Linked DNA regions of Homo sapiens: region 1 is linked to region 2. The links are contacts of gene promoters, found by promoter capture Hi-C in blood cells and fetal thymus (Javierre and others, 2016). All regions are on one chromosome and are shown on one strand. Each heading gives the region's core, a stretch centred on a gene start or on the middle of the fragment in contact. The rest is flanking DNA. Distances are from core to core; before and after follow the strand shown.

Region 1 (4,630 bases), core at 1,965-4,464, 92 kb before region 2:
TCCTGATTGCCATTTAAAAAGAAGAATCAGGGGTCTTTAAACCTGAAGAGGTCCTAGAGTCCCCAGCCCACCCATGAATGTTTCCCCTTGGGGCAGTTTAACCAGAAGGCTCCAGCTACGGGTCACGAGACCGTCAGGTTCGGGCTGCACGGGGATGGTGACCCCTGGGTGGCTGCCTGGACCACCCCAGGAGTCACTTGCCCTGCACGCTCTTTAGACCCTGGAGTCCTAGGCCTCTCAGCCCACCCAGACTTCAGACCTTCAGCTCCTGCCTCTCCTGTCTCCCCTGCCTGGTGCCCCACCAGTGTCTGCAGTGCCTCACTCCGCCAGCCACTTCCTGGAACCTCATAGAAATGAACTCAACCCCTCTCCCAACCAGGCCTCAGTGTCCACAGCAAAGAGCCTCCCCCAACCCATGCCCCTGAGCAGGCCTCAGCTGCAGCTTCTCCTGCGAGGTGCTGGGCCTGGGGGAGAGGGAGCCACAGTACGGGGTAAGCTGGAGGCTGCAAACTCCACCCAGAAAGGCTGTAAAGGAGGTGGTGCCCTTCTCCCTAGCAGCTTCCAAGAAGACGAGAGAAGGAAAGAGAGACAACAAGACCTCCTCCCGAGGTCCCAGGGGAGGAGAAGAGAAAAGGGGAGCAGTCAATGAGAACACAGCTGTGTGCAGGGTGGTGTGGCCACTGCCTCCTTGGCTGTGGGAGGCAGCGTGCTGGGGGCTGGGCAGCTGAGCCACAGCCCCTGCCTTTTCTCCTTCTCTTTGCCTATTCCCTCTGCTCCTGTCTCTCTGCTCTCTGCAGGTGAGGAGCAGCCTGGGCACCAACATCCTCAGCGTCATGGCGGCCTTTGCTGGGACAGCCATTCTGCTCATGGATTTTGGTGTTACCAACCGGGTGCGTTGTCAGATGGCCCTCGGGGTGGGAAAACTTGGAAAATGATGCAGCCATGTCCAGGAGGGTAGGGAGGTGAGAGTTTGCAGCGCCAGGACGTTGGCAGGGCCTGCCAGTCCCTATAGACCCCATGAATCCATGGATCCTCTGAGCCTTCCCCAAGATAGGCATCAGAAGGAGCAAGGAGGCAGCCTGCAGGGTGAAGGGGAGGGTGCAGGACTGGCGGCAGGGGGACTGGCTCCAGGCACAGCTCTGCTCCCAACTAGCCGCATGACCTTGGGCAAGTGGTTCTCACTCGGGGGACCCCCTTACTCTAGAACTCTGGGCTCACCTTTCTGTGGGTTTTGGTCCCCAGGATGTGGACAGGGGCTATCTGGCCGTGCTTACTATCTTCACTGTCCTGGAGTTCTTCACAGCGGTCATTGCCATGCACTTCGGGTGCCAAGCCATCCATGCCCAGGCCAGTGCAGTGAGTACCCCCACCCCCACCCCCACGTCCACTAAACCTGAGCTGAGCCTGTGTGGAAGGCAGTTGGCTGGGAGCGCGCTCTGCCTCCAGACCCCTCCCTCTGCACTCTGGGAAGCAATAAGAAGAGACAGCGCTAGGAAGGGTGTCCCATCCATGTCAGGGGGCCCAAAGAAGTCTTTGGGCTGGGCATGGTGACTCACACCCATAACCCCAGCACTTTGAAAAATGAGATGGGAGGATCTCTTGAGCCCTGGAGTTTGAGACAAGCCTGGGCAACATAAAAAGATCCTATCGCTACAAAAAAAAATGTATTTTTAATTAGCCATGTGTGATGGTACGTGCCTGTACTCCTAGCTAGTTGGGAGGCTGAGGCAGGAGGATCGCTTGAGCCCAGGAGGTTGAGGCTGCAGTGAGCTATGATCACACCACTGCCCTTCAGCCTGGGTGACAGAGGAAGGCTGTCTCTAAAACCAAAACAAAACCAAAGACGTCTTCGCAGGTCAGTGAAGACAGGACTGCTCTCCCCGTGGCACTGGGTGCACCAGCACCCACAGGGCCACTGCTCTGTGCAGCCCCACAGGCAGCCTTGCAGAATAGAAGGCCCAGGCTCAGGGCATGGGGGCAGTGCTGCACCCAGAGGAGTGAGACTTTTTGGAGTTCCCAGGCCACATGGGAGACAGGGGCATCAGGGAGGGCAGCATGATAGAGATGGAAATTAAGCTTTGATTTCCAAAAAAAATGGAGGACAGTGATGACAGAAAGGGGCTGGAGGGAGTGTTCAAGGCAGGGGAACCAGTTGGAGCAAAGGCTGCCTCGGGCAGGCAAATGCAGGCCACAGGGTGGGGTGCCCTTGGCAGGTGCACGATGGGATGCATTGAGGGTGAGGGGATTGAAGGTCTGAGCAGGGGAGTGAGCTGGTTGAGGGAAATCAGTCAAGAGGATTTGTCCAGTGCCGGAAGGTGGAGAGGGTGGACAAGCGGGGCTCGAGGCCAGGAAGCTGCAAGGAGGCTGGTGCCACGGTGCAGGCAAGAGAGAGCGAAGTCCTGAACCAGGCCAGGGCAGTCGGGAGAGAAAGAACAGCAGAGCCGGACGTGGTGGCTCATGCCTGTAACCCCGGCACTTTGGGAGGCCGAGGCGGGCAGATCATCTGAGGTCAGGAGTTCAAGACCAGCCTGGCCAACATGATGAAACCCCGTCTCTACTAAAAATACAAAAAATTACCTGGGCATGGTGGCAGGCGCCTATAATCCCAGCTACTCGGGAGGCTGAGGCAGGAGAATAGCTTGAACCCAAGAGGCGGAGGTTGCAGTGAGCCGAGATCACGCCATTGCACTCCAGCCTGGGCAACAAGAGCAAAACTCTGTCTCAAAAAAAAAAAGAAAAGAAAAAAAAGAACAGCAGAACGTTAGCGCCTGGAGAAATGGGACTTTTGTCTGTTTTGTTCACTGCTGTACTCCCAATGCCTGGATCATAGCTGGCCCCAGTAAATGTTGTTTGAAATATTGGTTGCACGGAGAGCCCTGAGCATGCGATTCAGACTTGCGGAATTCAGTACCAGGGCGCTGTTCTCAGATTACCCACAAGGGGGCACTATTGAACCACTACCCTGAAGCTCCAGCGTCCTCCAGGACGCTCAGTGCTGTTTTCTTTGCAGCCTGTGATCTTCCTGCCAAACGCCTTCAGCGCAGACTTCAACATCCCCAGCCCGGCAGCCTCTGCGCCCCCTGCCTATGACAATGTGGCATATGCCCAAGGAGTCGTCTGAGTAGCAGATGTGGCACCTGCGGGTGGAGTCCAGCCTTTTCCCTCTGGGCCCAGCCTCTCCCCACCCCCACCTTGTTCATCAGGGGCCAGCCCCATCCCAGCTGCCCTCCCTCACCACATCTACACATACTCCGGCATCTGAGTGAAGTGTCCCCAGGGACATCTCTCCCACACTTTCCCCAGTGCTTTCTTTCTAAAAGACACCGGGCTGACGTCAGGGGTGTGTGTCCTTCAGCTCCCTGAGCCCTGTCACCCTTCCAGGACACCCACCTTGTGCATCTAAGCATTTCTCTGCTCATTGGGGAAATCCTGGCCTCATTGGAGACTCAGGTTCGAGGCCTGCCCTGACCCTCGGGCCTCGGGAAGGTCAGAGAGCCCGGAATCCTCCAGAATGGAAGAGTCTGACTCTGGCATTCCACAGAGGTGCCGATACCAGGCCAAGGCCTCACAGCAGGGTAGTGGCCTGGCCGCAGGTCTCCTGGCCCCAAGATCAGCTCTGTCCTTTGTCATCTGTTGCCACATCCATGGAACTCAGGTTTCCTATTTGGAAACTAGAGTGTTGAACCAGATAAGGTTCATCAGGCCCTTCCAGCTCCCCAGGCTCCCTGAAGTCCTGGGTCTAGGCCAGGCATTGTCCCCCTGCTTCCTGGAAACCCTCATTTTCCTTGTCTGTAATATGAAGTCAGCATTGGCCCCGCCCCCCACCCCCTACCATCTCCCAATGGAGGGGAGGTTGCAGGGGAGAGCTGCCGCCAGCCCACTCCTGAGGCACCACCACAGTCAGCATCGACAGGGGCACAGCAGTGGCAGTTTGGGACCTCCCTGTGCCTCTCAGCACTCCCTTCCCCACCCCCATAGCCCAAGGACAAGGCTACCACAGAAGGTTACCACAGGACCTGGGCTTCGTCTCCAGGGGACAAGGAGACACTGTCAGCCTGGTGTTCACCAGGCCTGGTAGATGAGATGGCTTGTCTCATCCACACCACAGAAGGAAATAAACCATGTGGCTTAAATTTTGAGCTGGTCTTGTTGCAATGACTTTTTCTTTTTAACCTCAGGGGCTTCCAAGGGTCATCCCATGTTTATCAGAGGACCTGGGTAACTATCCCACTGTCACAAAAGGGCACCTCTGGGTGCCTCGCTCTGTGTGGTGTAATCCTTACACTTACTCTGTCCCCATCTCGGTTCAAACAAACATGCCTTCATATCCCCACTCCACAACTAAGGACACTGAAGCTTAAAGGTGTTAAATTATATGCCCAAGGCCACCGAGCTAGTTAGGAGCAAAACTGGGATCCAAACCTAGTTCCATGTGACGTCAGAGTCCGTGTTCTCACCACTTGGTCTCCCCTTAGTACAAACCTAAGTGCTTCCCACCAACCCCTTTTCCTCCTTCCTTCTGTTTCTTCATCCCCAAAACTAAGGCAGGGCTGCATTCCTCAACACACTCACTTCTTCTTCACCCAACAAACTCCCCCTCCTCCTTTAAGGCCCTATTTAAACGTTGCCC
Region 2 (4,811 bases), core at 2,294-4,793:
AGTAATTGTCAGAGCAGGAGCACCGTCATCTCGGACAAATACTGCCACTTTAAGCTCCAGCTCCCTTTCTAGCCTCATGCATTTCAAGGAAATCACTTCTCTTCTAACTACAACAGCCAGAAAGAGCAGACAGTAAAATACAGATAAGACAGCTCCGGCACAGAGCGGGGTGGAGGGAAGGTCTCTTTGGTAACTGCCAAACTTCACCCTCACACAATGAGCCCCAGTAAAACAGTGGGCCTTAATAAGCACATTCCTTTTCCTTCAGGGGCACTAAGATAGGGAAGCTAAAAGCAGACTCTGGGGATATGCCTGTAGCTGCAGAAAGATATATGGGAACAGACACACAACTCTCCCTCCCAGATACGCACAGCAAAGAGACACAGGAGCAGTCCAAGCCTCTGATAAACTCCCCCGCCCTGAATCCTTAACTCTTAATCTGTAAGAGAGTGGGGCTCTGACCTAACTCGGCCAGCCGCCCCTCTCAGGTTTACTCAACATAAACCTGTCCCTGTTGCCTGTTGAACCGCCCTTTCATGTTGCTTTCCTCTTTATTTCTTACAATAATGTCTGCAGATTAGATCGTTGTGTTTATACCATTGTTGGTTTCCTGATTTTGATCATTTGACTGTAGGGGTGATTTGTTTTTTTAGGAAATGTATACTGAAGCAATTAGAGGTAAAGGGGAATCTGTCATTTCTGCAACTGACTCTTGAATGATATGGAAGAATGTGTGCGTGTGTGCGTGTGCGTGCGTGTATGTCTGCACACATGCAGAGAGAGAAAGCGGGAGCTACAGCAAATGTAAAAAGTGAACAGTGAACATCTGAGGAATCTGGAGGAGGCTATATGGAAATTCTGCAAATCTGAAATAATTTCAAAATTAAAAGTTTAAAACTTCCACATCGTCCCTCAGGGAAAATCCACCCCACTCCCCGCTCCTGCCTGGCTCCTCTCCTTCCCCTCCTAGTCCTTCCCTCGCCAGCACCCTCAGCCTGCCTGGAGTCCTTGTCCTGGACCTTTGTGTGACCTGCTTCCTCCCTCCTCCTCCAGCTCTGCTCTCCCCAGATCCCCATTGCACCATCCCTGTCCTCCCCGCCTCCTCCCACCTCTGCTCAGGACCCCTTTCCTCCAAAAACACTTCCATGTCGCCCATCCTCGATGCTGTGTTGGGTGCCTCTTCCCACTGTGCCCCCAGAGGGACTCCCACCCCGCCCCACCAAGCTTTCCCAGCTGAGCTTTAATCACAGTAGAAGTGAATTATTGCCAAGCATTAAATCATTACTGCACCTGGTACCCATGACTTGTCTCTTTGTGTCTTCCTATCCACCATGTGGGCAAGGAAAGCATTATCACCCCCAGTTTACAAACAGGAAACCTGAGGCTCAGAATAGATAATGCATCTGAGTCACAGCTAAGAAAGTGGTTGGGGCACCATTAGAACCAACTTTTTTTGTTTAAACTTTTATTTTAGGTTCAGGGTTACTTATGCAGGTTTGTTATATAGGTAAATGCATGTCCAGAGGGATTGTTGTACAGATTATTTCATCACCCAGATACTAAGCCTAGCACCCAATAGTTATTATTTCCACCCTTCTCCTTCCTCTTACCCTCTACCCTTCAATAGGCCCCAGTGTGTGCCATTCCCCTCTATGTGTCCATATGTTGTCATCATTTAGCCTTCAGTTATAAGTGAGAACATGTGGTATTGGTTTCTGTTCCTGCATTTGTTTGCTAAGGATAATATCCTCCAGCTCCATCCATGTTCTTGCAAGAGATGTGATCTCATTCTTTTTTATGGCTGCATAGTATTCCATGGTGTATGTGTACCACATTTTCCTTTTTTTTTTTTCTTTTTCTTTTTTTTTTTTTTTTTTTGAGACAGAGTCTCACTCTGTCGGCCAGGCTGGAGTGCAACAGCACAATCTCGGCTCACTGCAACCTCCGTCTCCTGGGTTCAAGCGATTCTCCTGCCTCAGCCTCCTGAGTAGCTGGGACTACAGGTGCGTGCCACCACACCCAGCTAATTTTTGTATTTTTAGTAGAGACAGGGTTTCACCATGTTAGCCAGGATGGTCTCGATCTCCTGACCTCGTGATCCGCCCGCCTCGGCCTCCCAAAGTGCTGGGATTACAGGCGTGAGCCACCGTGCTCAGCATGTACCAGATTTTCTTTATTGAGTCTACCATTGATGGGCATTTGATTCCATGTCTTGGCTATTGTGAATCATGCTGCACTGAACATATGCACGCAGGTTCAGTGTCTTTATGATAGAACAATTTATATTCCTTTGGATATATACCCAGTAATGCGATTTCTGCATCAAATGATAGTTCTGTTTTCAGCTCTTTGAGGAATCACCACACTCCCACAGTGGTCAAACCAATTTACACCCCCACCAAGAGCGTATAAGCATTCCTTTTTCTCTGCAACCTCACCAGAACCGGGCTCTTAGCTATCAAGCCTCTTGCTCTCCCCTTCCAGCAGCTGCTAATTATAATAGCTGCATTTTCTAATGTTTGCTGAGCTCAAACGCTGCTGGGCCCTAGGCTAATCACTTGCAGGAATTAGTGCCAGGACGTGGGGCTGGTGACAGTCCCTTCCTCAGAGGATGGTCAGGCGGTATAAGGATCTAACACAAGCAAGACCTGGCACTGTAATCATGGCAGACCACAGGCCATTCTTGTTGTTTCCAGCCACTTTTATGTCTTAGAACTGTTCTAGATTTACAGAACTGAGAAGATAGTACAGACAGTTCCCATACACCGCAGGCCCAGTTTACCCCATAACTGATCTTACTTGAGTATGATACATTTATTACAATTAATGAACAAACAAATGTGGACACATTATTATTAACTAAAATCCACTTTCTTCACTTTTACTGCCTTTTTCTGTTCCACGATCCCATCCAGATGCCACATTACATTTAGTTGTCCTTGTTATTTTTTATTAGTCATAGTCATCATCATACTGACCGGCTGAATCCTCAGGAGAGCCCTTGGAGGTGCTACTGGTCTGTTTACTCACCTGCAGTCCCCATTCCGCTGCCAGCTCTGAGGGCTGTGTCTTCCTGGTCTTGCTCTAATGCCCCTAAAGCCCTGCCTGAGGAGCTGTGACTGTACTAACCAGGCCGGCAGCTCCCAGTGGTCCTGAGGCCTCAAGGCAGGAAGGAGGACCTGGAGAGCCTGTTGGGGCAGGAAGGGAATGCAGAAAGGCTGGGGTGAGAGGGAGACAGTGGAGGGCCTGAGGTCTGCAGTGCCACCTCCTAGCCCTGGATCCCTTCCCACAGCCCATCTGCAACCTCAGTTTTCTGGAAAGCTCCCTCCTCCCTTCCAAAGCCACAGCTGTGAGACAGAAAGCCAGGGTGAGGGGCCACGTGCAGCTTTCTGCCTCCCGCTGCCTTTGGAACAGGAGTTTCACCACAGCCCCTGGTGGCCAGGTGGGTGCTCCTCCAGGTGGGCCCCCTTTGCCCTTACAGGCACCCACTTGCCACCTCCTCCATAAAAGGCCTGGGCCCAGCTCTGGTGGCGAGGGAGTAGGGGGTGTGTCTGTGGCGTCTCATGGCAGGAGGCTCAGCCACGACCTGGGGTTACCCTGTGGCCCTGCTACTGCTGGTTGCCACCCTGGGGCTGGGTAGGTGGCTCCAGCCCGACCCTGGCCTCCCAGGCCTCCGGCACAGCTACGACTGTGGGATCAAGGGAATGCAGCTGCTGGTGTTCCCCAGGCCAGGCCAGACTCTCCGCTTCAAGGTGGTGGGTGAGTGCTGGCAGAGTCCTGGCCCCTGCCTCCCTGGCCACGGGCTGCTGCCAGAAGGGAGCTGGGACCCTTCCCCTGAAGGAGCAAGAACAGAGGCCTCCCTCCAGCCTGGGGGTGTCCAGCCCCCCACCCCCTCACCACAGAAAAGGGCAAGGAGGAGAATCATCACCCAGGGCAGCTTCTCCCACGTTAGTGTGCATGGGAAACACCTGGCCACCTTGTTGAGGTGCAGGTTCTGATTCAGTGGACCTGGGGCAGGGCCAAGCCTCTGCATTTCTTTTCTTTTTTTTTTTTTTTTCTGAGACAGTCTCACTTCTTTCAATCTGTTCTCCAGGCTTGAGTGCAGTTGGCACGATCTCAGCTCACTGCAACCTCCACCACCCAGGTTCAAGCAATTCTCCTGCCTCAGCCTCTTAGTAGCTGGGACTACAGGTGTGTGCCACCACGCCCAGCTACTTTTTGTATTTTTAGTAGAGATGGAGTTTCACGATATTGGTCAGGCTGGTCTCGAACTCCTGACCTCAGGTGATCCACCTGCCTCAGCCTCCCAAAGTGCTGGGGTTATAGGCGTGAGCCACTGCACCCAGCCTAGGCTCTGCATCTCTAACCACGCTCAGTCAAAACTGAGGCTGAGGGTCCATAAACCACTTCCAGCAGCAGGACCTAGTAGGCGTGGCCTGGTGTGGGTTTAGAACTGGGGTTTGGATCTGCAGCTTCTAAACGGGATGATTTTGGACAACTGACCTGACTCATAAGCCTCTGTTTCCTCATCTGCAAGGTGGGGAAGATGAACCTGGCCGTGCTCATGGAACAAGGGCATGGGGACATGCCCACACCCAGGGAATGCCCAGGCTGTTCTGGGGCAACAAGCAGGGTGGACACCTAGGGGGTGTCTCCAAGCAACTGCAGCAGCCACAGTTAACCTGGGAAATGGGTTCAGATCTTTCTACAAAGCCCAGGATTCAAATCCTCATTCTGCCCCTCATTGTGTGCACCTAAGAAAGCTCACGCACCCTCCCTTCCTCAGCTGCCTCAGCCACAGGATGTGGATA

Evidence for each region. The method cuts DNA at HindIII sites, captures the fragments that hold promoters and counts their contacts. A CHiCAGO score of 5 or more calls a contact.
Region 1: a fragment that was not itself captured here is called in contact with the fragment with the promoter of ZP1 in region 2 in 1 of 17 cell types (endothelial precursors); the score reaches 6.5 in endothelial precursors.

Annotation. Positions count from the first base shown.
Region 1 is chr11:60,772,595-60,777,224 of GRCh38, forward strand. It overlaps MS4A15 (membrane spanning 4-domains A15), which reads left to right. Exons shown (of 7, transcript NM_001098835.2): 5 at 798-890; 6 at 1,243-1,356; 7 at 3,011-4,139. The coding sequence ends at 3,121. Among named protein-coding and RNA genes, the nearest start is that of MS4A10, 10 kb to the right of the region's middle. RefSeq lists enhancers at 1,846-2,477, 2,478-3,107, 3,108-3,737 and a silencer at 2,844-2,963. The HindIII fragment of the contact is 2,280 bases long and covers 2,075-4,354 here.
Region 2 is chr11:60,863,999-60,868,809 of GRCh38, forward strand. ZP1 (zona pellucida glycoprotein 1) reads left to right here and starts at 3,544. Exons shown (of 12, transcript NM_207341.4): 1 at 3,544-3,759. The coding sequence starts at 3,564. RefSeq lists silencers at 138-432, 279-496. The HindIII fragment of the contact is 3,593 bases long and covers 1,223-4,811 here.